Linked DNA regions of Homo sapiens: all the other regions are linked to region 1. Evidence: promoter capture Hi-C in human tissues and cell types (Jung and others, 2019). All regions are on one chromosome and are shown on one strand. Each heading gives the region's core, a stretch centred on a gene start or on the middle of the fragment in contact. The rest is flanking DNA. Distances are from core to core; before and after follow the strand shown. Region 1 holds the start of GAD2 (glutamate decarboxylase 2). Region 2 overlaps LINC00836 (long intergenic non-protein coding RNA 836). Region 3 has its middle 110 kb from the start of LINC00836. Region 4 has its middle 74 kb from the start of MYO3A.

Evidence for each region. Contacts are between HindIII fragments. The study calls those that stand out against the background at their distance.
Region 2: a contact is called between a fragment that was not itself captured here and the fragment with the promoter of GAD2 in region 1, in 2 of the 25 tissues and cell types used here (H1 embryonic stem cells and mesendoderm cells).
Region 3: a contact is called between a fragment that was not itself captured here and the fragment with the promoter of GAD2 in region 1, in 4 of the 25 tissues and cell types used here (H1 embryonic stem cells, dorsolateral prefrontal cortex, heart right ventricle and 1 more).
Region 4: a contact is called between a fragment that was not itself captured here and the fragment with the promoter of GAD2 in region 1, in 1 of the 25 tissues and cell types used here (H1 embryonic stem cells).

Annotation. Positions count from the first base shown.
Region 1 is chr10:26,213,479-26,218,889 of GRCh38, reverse strand. GAD2 (glutamate decarboxylase 2) reads right to left here and starts at 2,116. Exons shown (of 16, transcript NM_001134366.2): 1 at 2,005-2,116; 2 at 1,221-1,280; 3 at 899-1,048. The coding sequence starts at 2,080. RefSeq lists enhancers at 164-792, 3,402-3,968, 3,969-4,534, 4,535-5,102. The HindIII fragment of the contact is 8,096 bases long and covers 1-5,411 here.
Region 2 is chr10:25,726,688-25,732,098 of GRCh38, reverse strand. LINC00836 (long intergenic non-protein coding RNA 836) reads right to left here. Exons shown (of 3, transcript NR_108068.1): 3 at 1-478. Among named protein-coding and RNA genes, the nearest start is that of LINC00836, 78 kb to the right of the region's middle. The HindIII fragment of the contact is 3,757 bases long and covers 321-4,077 here.
Region 3 is chr10:25,755,612-25,761,022 of GRCh38, reverse strand. No RefSeq gene overlaps it. Among named protein-coding and RNA genes, the nearest start is that of LINC00836, 110 kb to the right of the region's middle. The HindIII fragment of the contact is 4,242 bases long and covers 1-4,160 here.
Region 4 is chr10:25,857,517-25,862,927 of GRCh38, reverse strand. No RefSeq gene overlaps it. Among named protein-coding and RNA genes, the nearest start is that of MYO3A, 74 kb to the left of the region's middle. The HindIII fragment of the contact is 4,703 bases long and covers 1,018-5,411 here.

The DNA of each region.
Region 1 (5,411 bases), core at 867-3,366:
ATTTTTCAAAGGTGAAGGGAATGAATGAGATAAATTATGATTTCTTCTCTTCCCCAAATTAATTACTGCATTTCAATTCATAACTTATATTGTTTGCCTTCTTTTTTTGAAGAGCGTGTACCTCCGTTTATCTAGTTCACAGGAGTTCGTCTTAAACGTGTTTCTCAGTAAACCATCTTACATGTTTACATAAATATTTCACGTCAGAAGTGTTTGTCTCGAATGCCTTCGGGCAAACCAAAGTGGAACAGGTGCATTAGGATCTCTGGTCTGATAGGAAGGCCCGCTGTTTCTAAAGTCAGTGTGTGTGTGTGTGTGTGTGTGTGTGTGTGTGTGTGAGAGAGAGAGAGAGAGCGTATGCATGTGTGTCTGCATGTGTGTGTGCGCGCGTACATTTGGGAGACGGTGTGTAAGTGCACGGGGGTAAAACTCGGCGCGCGGGTTTCATGTGAATGGAATCGTTCTCTTGTGCAATTGCAGCTACAAATCACTCTCGTGATCTAAAGACCTAAAAAAAATGCAATTCTGAATTCTCGGGCACGGTATTTGGAAACTGAGTCCCACCCGAGGCCCCAGCGGCCTAGGGAAGCCAGCCGTCATCGATTCAGTGAGCGCACGAGCGCCTGGATCGTCGGCCACCCGCCATCCCAAGGGCCGCGCTGGGGGAAGAGCGCCACGGCCTCAGAGCCCTCTTGGAGCTCCGAGGCCAGGTTCGGGGGCTTGGACCCAGCGGGCAGGTCCCGCATTTCTCGCTTTTATCTGAAGATTCTGGCAGGTCCCGCCTCCGCTGCCACCTCGACGCCCCTGTCCGGCTCTCAGCGCCGGACCCGCACCGGCCGCGGTGGGCGGGGCAGAGAGAGGGGCAGGGGCGCCCCGGGGCTCCCCGCTGAGTCTTTACCTGTTGCATGGAGAAACGCGTAGTTGACATCCACTTTGGAGCAGCTGCAGGGCTTCTGGTCGCAGGCGCAGGCGGCCTTCCGGGCGGCGGCCCGCGGGGGTTGGCTCCCGCCGCTCTCCGCCGGCTTCTCGGCGTCTCCGTAGAGCAGGGCTGGGTAAGGACACCGAACGCGGGCCTCGTCAATCCTCCGCCGGGCCCGGCTCCCTCGCTCCCGCCTACCCGCAGCCAGGAAACCCCGACTCCGCTGACTGGGATGCGGAGGTGAGAAGACTGCTTGGACCCCGCGGGCCGACCTTGGCCGCCCCGGTCCCTGGGCACTCACCGCACAGTTTGTTTCCGATGCCGCCCGTGAACTTCTGAGCCACTTGGCACCAGGCTCGCGCTGCAAGGAAGAATAGGCAGGCAGACAGCGAGGCAGAAAGAGAACAACAGACGGACGTGTGAAATTTCGTTCTATGTGAAAATCAATCAGTCCGGGGTCCTAGGAGGGGCCGCCTTCCTCCTGGGGGCCGCTCAGGACTCGGTGAGGCCGGCAGGTGCAGAAGGCAAGCGGGAGGCTGGCGGCCCGGGCCAGCCCTCATTTCCTTTATCTGTTTCCCGAGGAGAAGCCCACACCGCTGCCCTTCCAGGTGCCAATCGGCTCAGGCAAATTCCTCTCCCTGCCTACCTTGGACGAGTTTTCCTAAACACTGAAGCTATCCATTTTTTCGCAGACTGTCTTTCTAGATAAAGAAATCTCTCACCTTTCCCATTTTTTTTTTCTATCTTCACGGTCACTCCGTCCCACCCCAGGGTCCAGACACCCGGATCTTAGCAGCGCCCCAGGACCACGGAATTCCATGTCCCCGAGACACCGCGGTCTTTGGGGGGCTCTTCCAACCTTCTGTGGAACGGGCCTGAGACTATTTGGGCGTCTTCCCAGGGTACAAGAGGCTGTAGAGGTCTTGAGCTCTTGGGCCGTCAAGGACTTAGCCCAAAAGCAGGGAGAAGCGCCCGAAGAAGTTTCCTGTTGCAGGTGGAAAAACCTCCTTCGTCTTCTCCGTAGTTCCGCAAACCCCAGACCACCGCAAAACTCGCCCGCCGCAGGCCCCCGTTCTCCTTCCTACCTGTGCCGGGATTCTCGGAATCCCCAGAGCCATCTTCCGACCCGAAAGACCAAAAGCCAGAGCCCGGAGATGCCATCGGCTTTGGAGACTGGAGCAGGTCGCCTGCGAGTGCGAGCTGCGGGCGAGCTGCCTCGGGCTTGGCCCTGCGCGCGCGTGCGTGCCCGTGTGGCGGGAGGAGGGCACCGCGCGGGGACCGGCGGGGCCGAGCGGCGAGGGCGGGTGTCACGCAGGAACAGAAAACGTGCGTGTCTGTGCGTGTGTGTATGCGAGCTGGAGACAGGGTTTAGGGACGTGGCAACCCTTTGGAAGCCGGGGAGCTTTAAAAGAGACCGGGACTACCTAAGGGTCCTCGGAGCCCGGACTCAGGAAAGCGCGGAGAGCCCCAGAGCATTTGAGGGAAAGGGAGCCCAGTGGGGATGAATGAGGGGGCGGCGGAGGAAAAAAACACGAGAGAGGGAGGGAGCTGAGTCGTGAGGATGCGAGGCAGACCATGCACGCCAGCTGGAGTCAGAGTGAGGGGGTGGGAGGCGTGCCAGCGCGTCCTCGGGCGAGCCAGAGGCGGGAAGTGCGGGCGGCCGCTGTCCCGGGTGCTGCCACAGCCGCTGCGCGCCAGCGTCAGCGAGGGGCAGACTGGGGAGACCTCGGCGAGGCGGGAAGCGTGGCCCAGAGGAGTTTTCTGTGTGCATCGATTGGGGTTTTGTTTGAGGTCTGGCTCCAGCTGAGGGGAAGGAAGCGGGGTTCCCGCGCCGTTTTCCTCCAAGCAGGTGCTGAGGTCACTGCGACCTCGAGAGCTCGCGCCCCGGGCGGGCATCAGGCGCCGTTCACGAGCCTGGGGAGGGGACGGCGGGGGAAGGGCTCCTACCCGCTGATGGGCTCATTTCAGCGCCTTGGTAGAACCTGACGCCTGCCTGCTGAACCGCGCCGTACCCGGGGGCGCACCGTTCCTGCGTAGCCAAGGGCTAGATCGCGGGACCCACCGTCCAGGCTCTGAGTGACGGCTGGGGAGAATGACTGCTGATTGAGGCAATTAAAATCCACGCTGGAGTCTACTGAGGACCTCGGGCTGGGGAAAAAAAAATAAAACGAATGGAAACTTCTTGGAAGAGAATGAGGCAGAGCGGCCAGAGTCGGCAGGATTGATGGCGGGTGGGGGATGGAATCAGGGCATTTGGTGACCTTGGCCCGCGGAGGCGTGGAAGCGCCCGCTGCTTGCGTGTAAGGGGGATCTGTGTGCGCCTGGGAGGGGAGAACAGGGTTTCCAACTAAGCAATCTCGGCTTTACAAATCCGAGTAGGAAAGAAGGCATCGCCTGCAGGGCCCTCGTTTTAAGGGGCTTCAAACCAATGCCCCCCCTCGCCCCCAGAGAATCTTCGCGGTAGCGGGTGACCCGGAAGCGCGAGATTGGTTCTCTCTGAGGCGTATTAGGAGGCGGTTTCTCTTTTTCTAATAAAGAAAGGAGGAGAAAGTCAGAATCGTTCTGATGATTTCCTTTCTACAAAAAGCTATTGCAGACAGGGAGGACGCCCTAAGGATTGGGAGCCCTTTGACAGTTTGCGCTGCGTTCTCCTGGCAGTGGAGATGAACTTCAAGTGCACCTCGGAGCTCCGGGGCTCTGGGGGAGACGGAGGGAGGGAGAGAGAGGAAAGGGCTGAGGTCGGCTTCCCGAGGCGGCTGCCTTCCCCGCGCCTGGCCAGAGCGCCTGTCATTTCCATTGTGTTCACAAGTCGTTTTATTTCTCTGACCTCCTGAACCAGCCACCAAAGCTGCTAACAAAGCAGAGACCCGGGGATCCCGTCTGGGCGAGCACCCCTCGACCCTCGCTTAGAAGGGACATCCTGGGGCCCATGCTGGACGCATACAGGCCCAAGTCCTGTGTGCTCGAGCATAACTGTCCCTGGTCAATTCTCTCCACAAAGCGCTGTCTTCTTCTCGCGTGCCTGAGTCCAGGGGTTCCCTGAGGAGTCATGGGATCCACACTATGGCAACTGGGCCCAGGCGCCAGGATGAGAGCAGGAAACCAGTCGGGCGTTGATAGCGTCCTGCCGAAGGCTGGCACTGAGCGTGCTAGGTGAAGTCTGTTCCAGGCTGTGGGAGCCCGGGTGGTCGAAAACTCAGGGCTCAGTTTGGCTCCTCTTTCTTGCTCTCCTGGCTCTGACACTCTAGGTCACCACAATAACAACTCCGGAAACCTAAAGACTTGTGGTTCAGCCATCTGCACTTCAGGCATGGCAGCTCCGCAGCTCTCTCCAGCCTCGCAGAGGCTGGTTCTTTGTTGAAATCCATATCAAATCCTGCAAAGGTTTTCCTTCAAGCCAGCAGTCTAGGGTTGCAGAACTTTTCTACTATGGATGAGTGGTTGAAAACATAAAGGTTCTTAAAAGCAAGCGTTTAAATCACACAAAACCCCCAAAGAAGAAACGGATTAAAACACCTGAATTTAACTGATTTTTTTTTCTTTTTGGTAAAGCAATGGCTTCAAGTGCTACCGTTTAAACTCCATTAAATCCCACAGCTCTGGAGTACTTTGGATCTAATGGTGATATTTACATTTTTTATTTAAACACACCCTACTTCAGATGCAGATGGAGATCTGATTTGTCTTTCCTGAAGGCTGTCCCTCCCTAGACGGTAATTTGCTTTGTAATGACTTTCATTTCACTAAAGAGCCCATTCCCCCTCTCCGGGGCTTGGGGTTGGAGATAACAAAAGAGCTCTGGGAGGTAATAATTACAGTCATTAGTTCACAAAGGAGGCAGCCAGTGAATGGGAAGGGAAGGCGGCCGCTTTGGAAGGCCCTTCCTCAGATGAGGGGCGAGAGACCCAATCCTCCGACTTGTAGGGACAGTTTCCTTAGGTGTCTGGTTTACCAACATATGGGTCTCAGGCTGACCCAAAGAAGAGTGTCTGGCACACATTTTCCTGTGTCCTTCCCGTGCTTAAATGTCAAAGGACAGAGAAAGAAGGGAAGATGGAAAGAAAAAGAGGAAACAACCACGGAAGAACACAAAAATATTGCAACCAAGCATTCACCAAGCCTTTGCCATTCTCTTTTCTATTCTCACTTAAAACATTGGTGCAGGAAAAATTTAGGGAGGGAGTCTGTTGCCTCCCTCCATAAATTCTCCCTACACCAACAGAAATAACAGAAGGGGCTGAGTGCCAGGGCTCTTGTCTTCAGGGGCCACCCAAGAAGGACGCCTAGATTGAAGGGTGGCCAGGCAGAAAAGCTGAGCTTAGCTTACTGCTCCTTACCCCTGGCCCCTGCTCCGCCCTCCCCACAAACCCAGGCCTTCTGGAGGCAAGTGGACAGGCAGCTAGAGGTGGAAGGGGGCCAGGCCACTTTGGGCTTTAGACACCCCTGCCCCTCCCAAGCCCCTCTCTCTGGTGACCTGCTGTGCTGGTTTCCT
Region 2 (5,411 bases), core at 950-3,449, 490 kb after region 1:
AGGCACAAAGGACCCATATTGTATTATTCCACTCATATTAGGCACTGAGAAGGGGCAAATTCATAGAAACAGAAAGTTCAATAGTGGTTACCAGAGACTGAGGGCAAGGGGGGAATGAAAATTTATTGTTGATAATAGGTACAGAGTTTCTGTGTGAGGTGATGAAAAATTCTGGAACTGGATAATGGTGATGGTTATACAACATTGTTTATTCTTAATGCTTCTGAACTGTGCACTTAAAAATGGTTAAAATGGTAAATATTATATACACTTTAGCACACAAAAAACCTCTTGACTATATTTGTGTGAATTTATTTCTGGAAGATGTATTCTGTTTCATTCATTGATGTGTCTATTCTTACATCAATGCCACGTCTTGATTGCTGTAGCTTTACTTGAAATCAGGAAGTGTGAGTCCTTTCACTTAGTTCTTGAGTCTTGTGCTCCACATGCTTTTTCAGTCATTCATGTCATTTTGCTTGAATAAAATGATAGAAATAGAGTATTTGTTACCTGCAGGTTATTACTGAAAAAGTACACACTACACGTTTCTATTTCCATGGCATTCTACAATAGCCCAAACCAATCTACAGTAGGAAAATATCAGAACAGTGATTGCCCGGACAGTAGGGGCAGGGCTGGACTGGCGATTGCATGGTGTAAATAAAGAGCTGATAACAGAATCTTCCTTACCCCAAATTCTGCAACCTTACTGGAAACAATGGTTCGTATAGCAAATTGAGAAACAGTGATGCAGGAGATGGAAAAAAATTATTTAGGCAGATAGTGAAGATAAAAGAGTCCTCGGCAAGGCTTCCCTGTTAACAAAAAGCAGCCCAAGAAATTATTTTTTTCCAACAAAGAGCAGCCTGAAAAATCAAGCTGCAAACATAGATAAGCAAGCTGGAAGCCTGCACGGGAGAATGCCGGCAGCTGTGCCAATAGAAGAGGGCTACCTGGTGGCCAGGCATATCCAACATGGAGGTTCCATCTTCCCTTTTTTGTTACCACATGTGCAATAAAGAGATGGGCAACATGGCGCTGGCCAGATAGAGAACCCATCTGCATAGTAAAAGATTAGGGTGAGCGCAGACAGCTTTTCATGCCCTCTGCTAATGACACACCCAGCCCTAACCAGTTTTTCTCACCCTATGCAAATGGCATACCTGGTCCAACCAATCTTTTGTGCCCTATCTAAATCAGACATCGCCTCTACAGGCTCATCTATAAAACCCTTTTCACCTTGGAACTGGCAACCCATTTTCTTGGGACCCTTCTCTGCAGCAGAGAGCTCTTCTGTTTTTTTCGCCTATTAAATTTCTACTCTGAAGCTCACTCTTTGTGTGTTCACGTGCTAGTTTTCCGTGGCCTTGAGACAACGAATCTCGGGTATCACCCCAGACAAGGAAGCCGCTTCAGCAGCACCTTAAAAGAAGTTGTAAAAAAACTAGAAGAATGTGGTCTCAAAAAAGTCAAAACAAGCTTTCTTTTTTGTTGCTTGTTTTTGTTGTTGTTTGTTTTGTTTTTCTTTTCTTTTTTTTTTAAAAGAGGTGACTCTTAGTGTCAAAATCTTTGGACACGTTGTGTATGTTCAGGAGCGTGCACTCTCCAGGAGATTTAAGAAGAAGTTGTTGCAAACCTGGGAGAGCCATTAATGAAGTCCTCAGGCTTTAGGAGCATAGCAGGACATCTTAGAGAAACTTAAGTCTGTGATTTCTGAAAGTCTGACAAGAAAGCCTTAAGCAAGGAAAGTAATTTTCAGAAATAATAAAGTGTGGCTGCCTGGAATATTAGTTCTGATTTCTGAACAGGTTTCTTACGTGATAAAAACAACCCAAACTGTCTCCCTTTCTGTGCCTGTACTCCTACATCTTACAAAAAAATCTCTCATAATAATCGGGAATGCTACTTAAGAAGCTCTATGTATAACCACAGCTGATGACAAAGTAAGGTGTCACATGGTTAAAATATTTTAAGTTTACCTTTCTTCTTGATCTGGAAGGTAACAAGGCCATGACTTCCTTTTTAAAAACATTTTATTTTATTTTAAGTTCCAGGACACATGTGCAGGATGTCCAGGTTTGTTTCATAGGTAAATGTGTGTCATGGTGGTTTGCTAAACCTATCAACCCATCCCCTAAGTATTAAGCCCAGCATGCATTAGCTGTTTATCCTGATGCTCTCCATCCTCCCACCTCACCACCAGGCCCTGGTGTGTGTTGTTCCCCTCCCTGTGTCCATGTGTTCTCATTTTTCAGCTCCCGTTTATGAGTGAGAACATGTGGTGTTGGTTTTCTGTTCCTGTGTTAGTTTGCTGAGGATAATGGCTTCCCATTTCATCCATGTCCCTGCAAAGGACATGATCTCATTCCTTTCTATGGCTGCATAGTATTCCGTGGTGTATATGTACCACATGATTTCTTTATTTGCTGTAACTCCTCCTTCCAGAAAGAAGAGCCATTTCCTCCCACCTGAGTAGGATATCTTTCCATGATGAAAAATTATTCTTATTTTCGAACAATTACATATCATCTGGGAGCAAGACGGCAGGATCTTTACTGTTTTAGATGTGACATTCTGAAATAAAACAAAGGGTAGACTACTCTGCTGGTCTCTAAACACCCTCTATGGCACAGCCCTGTTCCTCCACGGCACGGGTTTAATTTTTGGATGCCTCAATCTGTTATTTTTATGAGATTAAAGCCTCAAACTCTAAATGCATCTCTCTCTAGGTAACAATCCTGAATTTATTTACTAGTCTCTAAGAATCCTGCAAATATTTATGGTATGTATCTTTCTGGGTCCCCTTTCCTCATCCACAGCCCAAGGAAGATTGCTAGGAGTCATTAAGAATGTCTGGATGCTGCTTTCAGTCTGTGTTTTGACCTGGTAAAGGCAGGGCAACAATTGATACATAATATTTTTACGTATGTACGGAGTACATGTGATATTTGCTTCATGCATAGAATGTGAAATGATGAGGTCACGGTATTTGGGGTACCCATCACCTTGAGTATTTATCATTCATATGTGTGGGGGGACATTTCAAGTTCTCTCTTCTAGCTACTCTGAAATATACAATACACCGTTGCTAACTACAGCCATCCTACTCTGTTACCAAACATTTGGACTTTCAACCATGGAAAAGCCCTACTTCTCAGTCCAAAGAGATTTTTAAGGTAAAGCTTCGAAATAAAAAAAACAACTAGCCAGGTGCAGTGGCTCATGCCTGTGATTCCAGCACTTTGTGGGGCCAAGATGGGTGGATCCCTTGAGCTCAGGAGTTAGAGACCAGCCTGGGAAACAGAGTGAAGCCCCATCTCTACAAAAAATACAAAAATTAACAGGCATAGCAGCATGCGCTTGTAGTCCCAGCTACTCAGGAGGCTGAGCTGGGAGTATCACTTTAGCCCAGGAGGTTGAGGCTGCAGTGAGCTATGATTGTGCCACTGCACTCCAGCCTGGGCAACAGAGCAAAATTTTGTCTGAAAAACAAAACAAAACCACCACCACAACAATAAGCAACTATCAGTCATTTCATCTGCTCCTTGGTAATCTTAACTCTCTTTTAACTTTATGTTTGCTGTGTTTATAATAGTAATAATCATCAGTGTTATTAGCACTAACATTCATTGACCACATACCATGTCTCAGGTATTGTTTTAAGTACTTTATCCATTTTATATTAAAAAAATGAGGTAGGTAAAATTATTATCCTCTTTTATAGATAAAGAAACTGAGACCTAGAGTTTGTTAGGTAATGTACTTGTTGGGTGATAGAGTACCACCCAGAGGGTGGGGACGCTCAGTCCTGGATTCCCTTTGTCTTAACTACAGCTGGCCCCTGATTTTGCTCTCTTCCCATGTGCAAGTGACTGGGGGAATGATCCTTGCACCCCCGGACAACATCAAGGAGCAAGAGGTCAGGGACCAAGGAAGAAGCAGCCTCCTGTTCTGTAGGCTATGCAAAACTAAGCCAGGTGAAGGCCAGGTGCAGTGGCTCATGCCTGTAATCCCAGCACTTTAGGAGGCCGAGGTGGGCGGATCACCTGAGGACAGGAGTTCGAGACTGGCCAACATGGTGAAATCCCATCTCTATTATGGTGGCACGTGCCTGTAATCCCAGCCACTTGGGAGGCTGAGGCATGAGAATTGCTTGAATCCAGGAGGTGGAGGTTGCAGTGAGCCTAGATCACGCCACTGCACTCCAGCCTGGGTGACAGAAGGAGACTTCATCTCAAACAAAACAAAACAAAACAAAACAAAACAAAACAAAAAAACTTAGCCAGGTGAAGAAGATTACTAGAGGTGCCAGGCCAGAAACTGCATGGCAGCGTCATTTCTCCCAGAGTGCCAACCTCTGGTTTCATGTATTTGTGTATACTGTTGGGGCTCAGAAAACTTGCTAGAAATGGAACCAAAGAAGCAGTGTCAAGATCTCTCTAACCTCCCCTCCAATCCGTTCAATCTCTCTCTCCCAAACACAAGATGAGGCTGTTCTCTGAAGTCCCCTTGTTAACCTAGAAACTAGGCTTCAAAAGAGAACACAATTGGAACCCTTGCATCTGTCCCCTGAAATTTCATTAACCAGGGAAGATTAAAACTCATCACAGAGGAAGAGATGGGAAGTTAAACACCATACCTGGAATGCAAATGAACTTTGTCTCAAACTGTTATCTGTTCTCTGTTACCTCTCAGTTCTAAAGAGCATCATTTACAAGATAAATATCTGCCTCCTGGGTCCCTTCAGACCTCCCTAAAAATCATTTTCTCCTACAGACTCTCACCTCCTCTTCCCCTCTGAAGAAGAGTATATAAGAATCTGGACCTCATTGGGTTATTGGGAATTCATTCTCCTGGGATTCCCCAGTGCTATGCATGTTAAAATAAATTTGTATGCTGTTTTTTCCTATTAATTGGCCTCTTGTCAGTTCATTTTCAGTGGACCTTCAGAGGGAGAAGGGGGAAGCTTTCCCTCTTCACCTCTACAACACTCCAGAGGCTGAAACCAGCACGGAAGATGCCAGAGAAGTGAGGAAACAAAAAATAAACAAAGTGAAGGAAGGAAGGGAGGGAGGGTGAGAGGGAAGAAAGAGAGAGAGTGAAGGAGGAAGACAGAAAGGGAGGGAGGGAGAGAAGAAAGAGTGGGACAAGGTGTGTATTAGTCCATTTTCATGGTGCTAATAAAGACATACCTGAGACTGTGTAATTTATAACAAAAGAGCTTTAATGGACTCACAGATCCACATGGCTGAGGAGGCCTCATAATCATGGCAAAATGTGAAGGAGGAGCAAAGGCACGTCTTACATGGCAGCAGGCAAGAAGGCATGTGCAGAGAAACTGCCGTTTATAAAACCATCAGATTTCATAAGACTTATTCACTATCACAGGAACAGCATGGGAAGACCCA
Region 3 (5,411 bases), core at 790-3,289, 460 kb after region 1:
CTGAATCATTAGAATCATCTATTTTGGAAAAATCGGATTCATCAAATGAATCTTCAGCCAACTGTTAGAGAATGATGTTAACATCATGTGTAGGAATGCTACATTTTCTAGGATTTGACATTTTCAGTGGTTGAGAATTACTGTGTTTTGTAAATGGAAATACTACTACTAAAAACAGAATGCTATAAATAGAATGATGTCTTTTGCTTCTCAAGTCGATATACCAGAGTGATGCAAAAATAATAATAAAAGTGAGATATTTTGTGGCAAAGTTATCTTGGGGTAAACACTGCAGCTGAAAGCCCGCCGGCAAGTATTCCCAGAGCAAACAGGAAAAGGGTTAATTTAGTTTAATAACTGATTCTCCCCCTATATTCCTACCAAGTTCAAAATCTGTCTTACAATCAGGCCTATTGCTGATTGCACTTACCAACCCTACAAGCCGAACCTAGCAGTCTCTCATATAGCTAAGCAATGACAAGAGCGTCAGGCAGCAGAAGTGAGGACAGATCACTGCTGAGTCTTCATGTTGAGAGCAGTGGGGCAGTTGTTAGCTGGAGCTGGCTTGCACTGATTAGTGAGAGCAGATTGTGTATATTTCTTCTCTGTGCTGAGTTCAGTATGCACTGATACATTGGTAGGATGAAATTTACCATGGTGAAAGTATTTACACCATGGAAATTGGCAAATGCTATTTATCAGGCCTTTTTTTCCTCTCCTAGATCTATTATTAAATATTTTCCAGCATACTACTAGATATGCAGAAGCACAAACTACCCAACAGGCTTTTTGTGATTTGGCCTTAAATGTTAAATCCCCAGAATATAAATAGAGAGATCTTGTTGGTTGGAAGTAGGTGGAAAAGTATGAAAGGTAATGCAAGGTCGAATTCAGATGCACTCATATGTGAATGCCCATTATTAGCCTGTCCTCAATCAATTCCCAAGGCCAAGCCTTGGGAAATTGAGCATTAGTGAAAGGAAAATGTCTGCTTTGGTCAACTGAGAATAATCTCAAAGACTAAACAATTTAAAAGTTAGCTGCCTTATGAAAGCTTTCATAATGGTGAGATTTATATCTGGACAGATGACAGCAGGAGAGATATTAAAGTCAATAAATAAATGTTTATTAAAGATTTCTACTAGAGACTTCGAAAATACAAGGACATACAAGCTATAATGCCTTATCTCAACAATCTCACATGCAGGGGTATATTAGTCTGTTCTCATGCTGCTAATAAAGACATACCTGAGACTGGGTAATTTATAAAGGAATGAGTTTTAATTGACTCAGAGTTCCACATGGCTGGGGAGGCCTCACAATCATGGCGGAAAGCAAAGGAGGAGCAAAGGCACATCTTTACATGGTGGCAGGCAAAAGAACGTGTGTAGAGGAACTCTCCTTTATAAAAACATCAGATCTTGTGAGACTTATTCACTATCACGAGACTCTCCCCCATTATTCAATTACCTCCCACCAGGTCCCTCCCTCAACATGGGCATTATGGGATCTACAATTCAAGATGAGATTTGGGTAGACACAGCCAAACCATATAAAAGGGTAATAATATTATGTGGTGGAAACACATCGGTTGGGAGTCAACAAGTTCCTTTATTGGCTTTGCACTAACTGGCTGGTTGGTCATGTCCTTTACTGTCTGTGGACTTCACTTTCCTCTTCCATAAAGTAGAGATTTATGTTCTTTGAGATTACACTCTGAGATGTTATTTTGTTTAGCTATGAAAAGAATAAGAGATTCCAGGCCCAAAAGAAATCAGTGTGATTGCAATTATTTGCAGATGTGTGTATGTCTGTATGTTCATTTCTCCTAGACTGAACTTTTTAAAAACATAGATAATGTGTTATTCATCCTTATATTCCCAGTACTGGACACATATTGGATGTTCAGTGAATGTTGAATGAACAAATAAAGAATAAATACCTCTGTAACTAATCAGGGAATAGGTATAACACAAATTAGGTTGTGGACCTGTGAAGAAACTGGTGTATCCTATTGTACTTTTCCATTTGGTTTTCATAGGAACCCTGTTGGTACAAAAATATATGCAATTTCTTCAGATTCTGGTGAGAGGTAGAGACAGGGCCAAGTTGCTAAAAAAAAAAAAAAAAAAGTGTCTTCTATGAGTTTTTTTTGTACCATTACAAAAATTTTTTTTGGAAACAACCAAGTGTACTTTGTTTTATCAGATAATTGGCACACTAGTTTTATTATAACTGGTAAGAATCTTGCAGTACCTAGAGGCAAAGATTCTGAACATTGATAGATTATCTAAGCATATATTTGTAGTGATGTAATTGTGGCTATAGGAGACTGGATAACATCTGTGCAGGGCATAGGACGTTTTAAAAAGTTGCTTAACCAAATGAACCTCTGCTATCAACTTGCTGTGCTACTACATTTACCTTTCTTCTCTTTAGTGTTGTAGGGCAAAAAATCTGGCTAATGGAAAATTTTAATTCACTGTTTTGTTTAACTGACTTAATGGACTGCAATTACTGATGTAGTATTTAAACAACCAGAGCAGTAGCTGTGCTTTTTCACATCATAAATGCATGCTAAATTTATCTTCCTTTATAATGTAGCTTGTAGGTTTGCTCCATTTTGCTGTGTGAGTAAATGGTTAAACATCTTACAGTTTGTATTGCCCCCCAGGGTTAGAGAGAAAACAAGTCATTTATCCTCAAGAGCTCCCCTGAGATCTGCAGAAGGGTGTGCTGCTTTTAAATAGATTTCTGTAGCAAAGTGCACAGTCATTTTAAAGCTACTGATGTATTTGGAGACATTCATTTCCTATCTGTCAGCCCCTACCTTTGGATTTCATATTTCCTTCTAGTTCACAACAGGGGAAGTGCAGACTGACTCAATGCTGCCCCCAAGTGTTATCTCAAAACATAGGCTCAGGACAAAAGCAAGACAAAGAGCCACTAATCACAAGAAAAGAAATTCATTATCAAAATCTACAGTTTATTTTGAATTGTGCTTCTGGTTGCTATTTAAAGAGAACACATTATGAAATGAAATCAACTCAACAAATATTTTTGGAAAACCTGTGCTATGTGTAAGAGGATACAAAGGAACAAAACACGATCCAAGCTTTAAAGGCTTTCAAACAAGTCAGAGAGACAAGAGTGGCTGAAAGGCTAAATAAAAAACAACTAATAGATGTCACAAGAATGAATTAGACGAACTGTTAAAATAATGGTAATCTAACTTGTATAGCTGACATTTAAAAAATATAACCTAATACACATTTTTAAGGCATGTGCTAAATCCTTTGTATTCGTTATCTCATTCAATCTGCACAATAACCCTATGAAGAAAGAAACAGTGTAATGTCTCCTTTTTTCTTGAATGAAACAGAGGCTTTCAGTCTGGTGCAAAAGTAATTGCAGTTCTTGCCATTAAAAGTAATGGCACCAACCTAATAGCTAAGAGCTAGGTCACCTACCTATGACATGACAGAGCTGGGACTCACCTCAAGTCTTCCTGGCCAGAAAGCCTGTGCTCTTACCTGAAATGCTTTGTAACCACAAGATGCTAGAGAAGACAACCATCATGAGAGTAGAAGTGATCCCATGGGGTTTTCCAAGGATGTGTGGTTTGAGGATGTTCACACTTAAAAAAAGAAAGTTTTTAAGTTTTGTTTTGTTTTGTTTTTGAGAAAGAGTCTTGCTGTGTCACCCAGGCTGGAGTGCAGTGGCTCGATATTGGCTCACTGCAACTTCTGCCTCCCAGGCTCAAGCAATTCTCCTACCTCAGCCTCCCGAGTAACTGGGATTACAGGTGCCTGTCACCACGCCCGGCTAATTTTGTATTTTTAGTAGAGACGGGACGGGGTTTTACCATGTGGGCCAGGCTGGTCTCGAACTACCGACCTGAAGTGATCAGCCCGCCTCGGACTCCGAAAGTACTGGGATTATAGGTGTGAGCCACCGCACCCGGCTGGAAAGCTTTCAAAGTGAAGCAATCAGCATTGCTTGTGTATCCGGAATTGGTGGGTTCTTGGTCTCAGACTTCAAGAATGAAGCCGCGGACCCCGGCGGTGGGTGTTACAGCTCTTAAGGTGGCGCGTCTGGAGTTTCTTCCTTCTGGTGGGTTCGTCGTCTCGCTGGCTCAGGAGTGAAGCTGCAGATCTTCTCAGTGAGTGTTACAGCTCTTAAGGCGGTGCGTCTGGAGTTGTTCGTTCCTCCTGGTGGGTTCGTGGTCTCGCTGTCTTCAGGAGTGAAGCTGCAGACCTTTGCGGTGAGTGTTACAGCTCATAAAGGCAGTGTGGACCCAAAGAGTGAGCAGTAGCAAGATTTATTGCAAAGAGCGAAAAAACAAAGCTTCCACAGTGTGGAAGGAGACCCGAGCGGGTTGCCACTGCGGGCTCAGGCAGCCTGCTTTTATTCTCTTATCTGGCCCCACCCACATCCTGCGGATTGGTAGAGCAGGGTGGGGTGGGGGGGGGGGGGGGTGGTCTGTTTTGACAGGGCGCTGATTGGTGCGTTTACAATCCCTGAGCTAGACATAAAGGTTCTCCACTTCCCCACCAGACTCAGAAGCCCAGCTGGCTTCACCCAGTGGATCCCGTACCGGGGCTGCAGGTGGAGCTGCCTGCCAGTCCTGTGCCGTGCGCCCACACTCCTCAGCCCTTGGGTGGTCGATGGGACTGGGCGCCCTGGAGCAGGGGGTGGCGCTCGTCGGGGAGGCTCTGTCCGCACAGGAGCCCACGGAGTTGGGGGAGGCTCAGGCATGGTGGGCTGCAGGTCCTGAGCCCTGCCCGGCGGGAAGGCAGCTAAGGCCCGGCAAGAAATCCAGCGTAGCACCAGTGGGCCGGCACTGCTGGGGGACCCAGTACACCCTCCGCAGCCACTGGCCTGGGTGCTAAGCCCCTCATTGCCCGGGGTCGGCAGGGCCGGCCGGCTGCTCCGAGTGCGCGGACCGCCAAGCCCACGCCCACCTGGAACTCCAGCTGGCCCGCAAGCGCTGCGCGGCCCTGGTTCCCGCTCGCGCCTCTCCCTCCACACCTCCCCGCAAGCTGAAGGAGCTGGCTCTGGTGTTGGCCAGCCCAGAAAGGGGCTCCCACAGTGCAGTGGTGGGCCAAAGGGCTCCTCAAGTGCCGCCAAAGTGGGAGCCCAGGCAGAGGAGGTGCCGAGAGCGAGGGAGGGTTGTGAGGACTGCCAGCACGCTGTCACCTCTCACTTGGTTTGGTAAGAGCAGCAAGATTTTTTCTTTTCTTTTCTTTTTTTTTTTTGAGGCAGAGTGTCACTCTGTCACTCAGGCTGGAGTGCAGTGGTACCATCTCGGCTCACTGCAACCTCTGCCTTGTGCCTCAGCCTCCCTAGTAGCTGGGACTACAGGTGTCCACCATCATGCCCAGCTAGTTTTTTTTTTTGTATTTTTGGTG
Region 4 (5,411 bases), core at 2,120-4,619, 360 kb after region 1:
AGGTAATCTGCCCACCTTTGCCTCCCAAAGTGCTGGGATTACAGGCATGAGCCACCACACCTGGCCTCTTTGATTATTTTTTTAAATTTTTGTTCTTTTCTCTCTTTTTGAAATACCTATTAGAGAGATGTTGAACTTTCTGGATTGAGTGTCTTTGCCTCTTCTTCCCCTCTTACATTATCCATTCTTTGTCTTTTTAGGATATTTTCTTAACTTTGTATCCTTTTTATTTGAAAACATATAATGTGATCTTCTCAAAAACTTCTGAGGGTTATCAAATAGAGATTTAAAAAGTTCAAATGCTTCTATCTCTTTCCTCACTGACCATTTTTTCTCTCATTCTGCAGTTTCTTTAAAATTGGTCTTTTCCTTTATGTTGAAAAGTCTCAACAAGTATCTGGTGATATTAAAGAACAAGGCATTGAAAAGCTGAATGAGAATTCTGCATGTTGGTGATGGTGAAGCCTTCTGTGGACTGACGTGTATCATTTCTAATGGCTGCTTACCTGAGTTAGGGACCCAGGTGACCTCTGACCTCCTGCATGGAGGCAGACACTTAGTCGCCTGTGTCCTCCTCACACGGACAGTTGGGGAATAAAGTCTTCTACCCACACATTTGCTGTTCCCCTGTTTCCAGCCCCATGTTTGACTCTTCTCCATTAGTCTCCTGGGATCAGACTCCCAGTCTACTTCCGTAACCTCTTCAGGGAGGGGCAGGTGCCTTGTCTTCATTGTTTGGCTTTATTGTTTCCCATGTCCCCTGGAAGGCATCCCTTGTCCTGTAATTTCTTCTGCCCTGCTACATCAGTTTTACTTTCTTCATCAATTTTCTTCTGCCAGTAATATTTTAAATCTATGGCCTATTGATAATCTCTTACCTATTCTCATCATCATTGTGAGTTTGTACATTTAAAATATCTGCACTAACTTTTTAATTGATCCTGGCAGGAAGAAGAGGTATACAATAGGCATCTTTAGCCCAAAGTCTTATAATTTATTTTCATTGTATCCCTGGGTACAGTGGAGGTGAACTTTTTCAAAGTTGACCTGTCAGAAAATGTCTGTATTTGGCCCTCTCACTTGGTTACAAGTGACTCATAGTCACTTTCACTTAGAAGACTGAAGCCATTCTCCATCATCCTCCAGCCCCATTCTTGGTAATGAGAATCATGAAGTCAGATGATGCTTGTTTCTGGCTGAGATTTCTTTATTTTATCCTGGAACTTTTAGCAATCTCTTATCCAGGATGATTCTGGGTATAGGTATTAAAAAAAAAAACAAAACTCTACTCAGCATTTGGTGAGACTTTTCAACCTGAAAATGTGTGTCTTTCTTCAAATCTAAAAATTTTTTACTATATATTTATTTTCTTTCATCCAGTTTTTAATGTTTTCTCTGAAATTTAATAAATCTACATAAAAAATTTAAGTAAAAAAATTTTAAAAATCAGTAGAATCTAGATGAAAGAAATAACTAATAGGCAAATTTATTTGGAAAAAAAAATTCCAATGGCAATAACCTATAAAATGCTTAGAAACAAACCTAACAAGAAATGAGTAGAATTATGTGAAGAAAAATATGATTTTAGGAATAATATTTTAAAGACCACTTGACTATGTCCTTAAATGGGAAGACTCATTATTGTAAAGATATTTACACTAATTTAACAATAAATGTAATACATTCCTTAAGTTTTTTCTTCTTTTGCATATTATCAGTCATCTGAAATTGTATTTACATAAGGACAGCCAAGTATAACAAAGACTATCTTGATATAACAGCTAGAAACTCTTTATAAAGCTCTAGTGTAGTAAAAATATATAAAAAGTTCCATAGAATAGAATCATGAGTCAAAAAATAGACTGAAACATACCTGTGATATAGTTCAATTTATCTATTTTTACTTTGTTGTCTGTGCTTTTGCATCATATCCAAAAAGTCTTTTCAGGCTGCTCTGTCTATAGAGTGGCCATTCTTTATTCCTTTACTTAATAAACTTGCTTTCACTTAGAAAAAAAAAAAGTCATTGCAAACCCAACTTTAAAAAAAAGTCATTGCAAACCCAACTTCATAAACTTTTATCCTGTGTTTTCTTCTAAGAGTTTATAGTTTTAGCTCTTGTATATGCTTTTGACTTATTTTGAGTAAATTTTTGTATATGGTGTAAGGTAAGGGTCCAATTTCATTCTCTTGCATGTGAATATCTGGTTTTCCCAGCACTATTTGTTTAAAACACTCCCCTTTCCCCCCATTTAATAGTATTGGTACCCTGGTCAAAAATTATTTGATCATATATGTGAAGGTTGGCTTCTGAGCTCTTTATTCTATTCTTTTGGTCTAAATGTCTTCCTTTACACTAGTATGACACTGCTTTGATTGCTGTAGCATTGTAATAAGTTTTGAAACCAGGAGATTGAGATCTCACACAACATTTTTTTCAAGGATATTTTGGCTATTTAGGATCTTCTGAGATTCCATATAAACTTTAAAATGGATTTTTTCATTTCTGCAAAAAATGCGATTAGTATTGTGATGGTGATTACATTAAATTGGTAGATTACTCTGGGTAGTATTGACAGCTTAATATTAAGCCTACAGCCCATAAGCACATAATATCTTCCCATTTATTTGTGTCTTCTTTAATTTCTTTCAGTAATGTTTGGTCTCAAACTCCCGAACTCAAGCGATTCTCTTGCTGTGGCCTCCCAAAGTACTGGGATTACAGGTATAGACCACCATGCTTGGCCTCAGCAATGTTTAGTAGTTTTCAGTGTACAAGACTTTTCTTCTCCTTGGTTAAGTTTATTCCTAGTATTTCATTATTTCTAACGCTATTGTAAATTGAATTATTTTCTTAATTTCCTTTTCAAATTTTTTCACTGTTAATGTACAGAAATGTAACCAATTTTTGCAAGTAGAGTTTGTATACTCTACTGACGTTATTTATTCTTTCAAACAGTTTCTTTTTTGGTGGAATTTTTATGGTTTCCTACATGTGAGATCATGTCAGCTTTGAACGGAGATAATTTTACTTCTTTATTTTCAATTTTTATTACTTTTATGTCCTTTTCTTGTCTAATTGCTCTGGCTAGGACTTCCAGTATCATATTAAATAGAAGTGGCAGGTAGACATCCTTGTTTTACACCTAATCTTAAAGGAAAAGCCTTGTCTTTGGCTGTTGTATATGATGTTAGATGTGGGCTTTTCATAGCTGGCCCTCTATAGCTAATTTGTTTAGTGTTTTTGTCATAGAAGAGTGTTGAATTTCATCAAATGCTTTTCTGTATCTATTGAAATAATCATGTGATTTTTATCCTTTCTTTTTTTAAAGTGCTGTATTATACTGATTGCTTTTCATATATTGAACTTGTATTTCAAGAATAAATCCCACTTGGTCATGGTGTATAACACTTTCAATATGCTGTTGATTTTGGTTTGGTAGTATTTTGTTGAGGATTTCTGTGTCAATATTTATAAAGAATATTGGTCTGTAGTTTTCTTTTCTTGCAGTGCCTTTCTCTAGCTTTGGTATCAGGGTAATGCTGGTTTCATAGAATACAATTGGAAATGTTTCCTCCTTTTTCATTTTTTTGGAAGAGATTGAAGAGGATTGTTGTTAATTCTTTATATTTTCCATAGACTTCACCAATGAAGCCATCTGGTCCTGAGCTTTTCTTTGTTGGGAGGTTTTTGATTGCTGATTCAATCTCCTAGCTAATTATACATCTGCTCAGATTTTCTGTTTGTTTATGATTCAGTCTTGGTTGGTTGTGTGTTTCTAGGAATAGCCATTTCATTTAGGTTATCCCTGTGCAACAATTTTCAACCTTACAATATTAAAACACCAAATACATTTACAATGGAATAGCAATTTTTTTTTAAATAGAGGGGTAAAGTTAAGATGTTTGGTAACATCCATTCTGGCAAGAAACTAAGAAAATAGGAAATATTTTGCACAATTGCTAGGGTGTTAGTACAATAACAGAGTATTTTGTCTATGGAATATGAAATGCTCACAATCACGGATTCACCCATTAGAACGAGCACATACCCTACAAGATATACTAAGAGAAGTGTGCATTGTTAAATGTACAAGAAAGAAAGTTGCAGCATGGTATGTAAAAGGTAAAAATTAGAAAACACCTAACATGCCATTGTCAAGAAAAAAGCTTCAATTCTGCATTGTTTTAAAAATGCTTATGTTACAGTTCTTGTTTATTTTTAATTGAATTATAATAGGAAGTTTTGAACTTATAGCTCCTATTTCATATACAAAATCGCCTCCAGTTGATATCTGTATAATATTTTGTCCTATATGTATTAGATCATCAATTCATTTATTCATATTCCCTTCCACAAACACTTATTGAGCATCTTCTAGAGGCCAAGTACTGTGTATATTAGATATAGAATAGTGTGTGAAACGAAGCCCTAGATAGCATTGATCTCTTCACTTACTTAAGTCTTCCTTAACGTCTTGAAATACAATTTTATCATTTCTTTTGTTTATTTGCTTTTTGTTTTCCTTATTTCATTTTCTTTTCTTCACACTGGTTTGAAAGAGCTATATTCTTTGAGTGACTACCCTTGGAATTTTAGCCTTCGTATTTACCAAAGACTCATGTATTCAGTATCTCTTCTCATATAACGTAAGTGCTCTTGGAATGTTATAACTTCAACCATATTCCTCCCAGTTAATATTTGTGGTTGTTCTGTATCTTATCTCTATCTTGTTTTAATTATCTGTAACCTCACAGATTAAGTTATTATTGTTGTTTTATCATTCCAGTGTTTGTTTAGATTTATCTACATACACACCTCAAAATATATCCTATTTAAATTATTTGGGGTATATGTAGTTTGGAAACTCTGTTTCCATTTATCTTTTTTTTTTTTTTTTTTTCTGAGACAGAGTCACACTCTGTCTCCCAGGCTGAAGTGCAGAGGCACGATCTCAACTCACTGCAACCTCCACCTCCCTGGTTCAAGCAATTCCTCTGCCTCAGCCTCCCAAGTAGCTGGGATTACAGACACATGCCACCATACCTGACTAATTTTTCTGCATTTTTAGTAGAGACCAGGTTTCACCATGTTGGTCAGGCTGGTCTCGAACTCCTGACCTCGTAATCCACCCACCTTGGCCTCCCAAAGTGCTGGGATTACAGGCATGACCCACCGCAGCCGGCCTGTTTCTATTTATCTTAAAAATATTTTTATTTTAACTTTGTTGTTAAAAAGATATTTTTATGGAGAATACAATTCTTGATTAATTGTTTTCTGTTTGCTTTGGTTTGGTGTGGTAAGTAATTTGAGGATAATTTTTATTTGCTGAATTCTGCCATCCAGTGTTGCTTTGGAGAAGTCAGCTATCAATCTAATTTTTGTATTACCTTGAAGTTGATATTTTTAC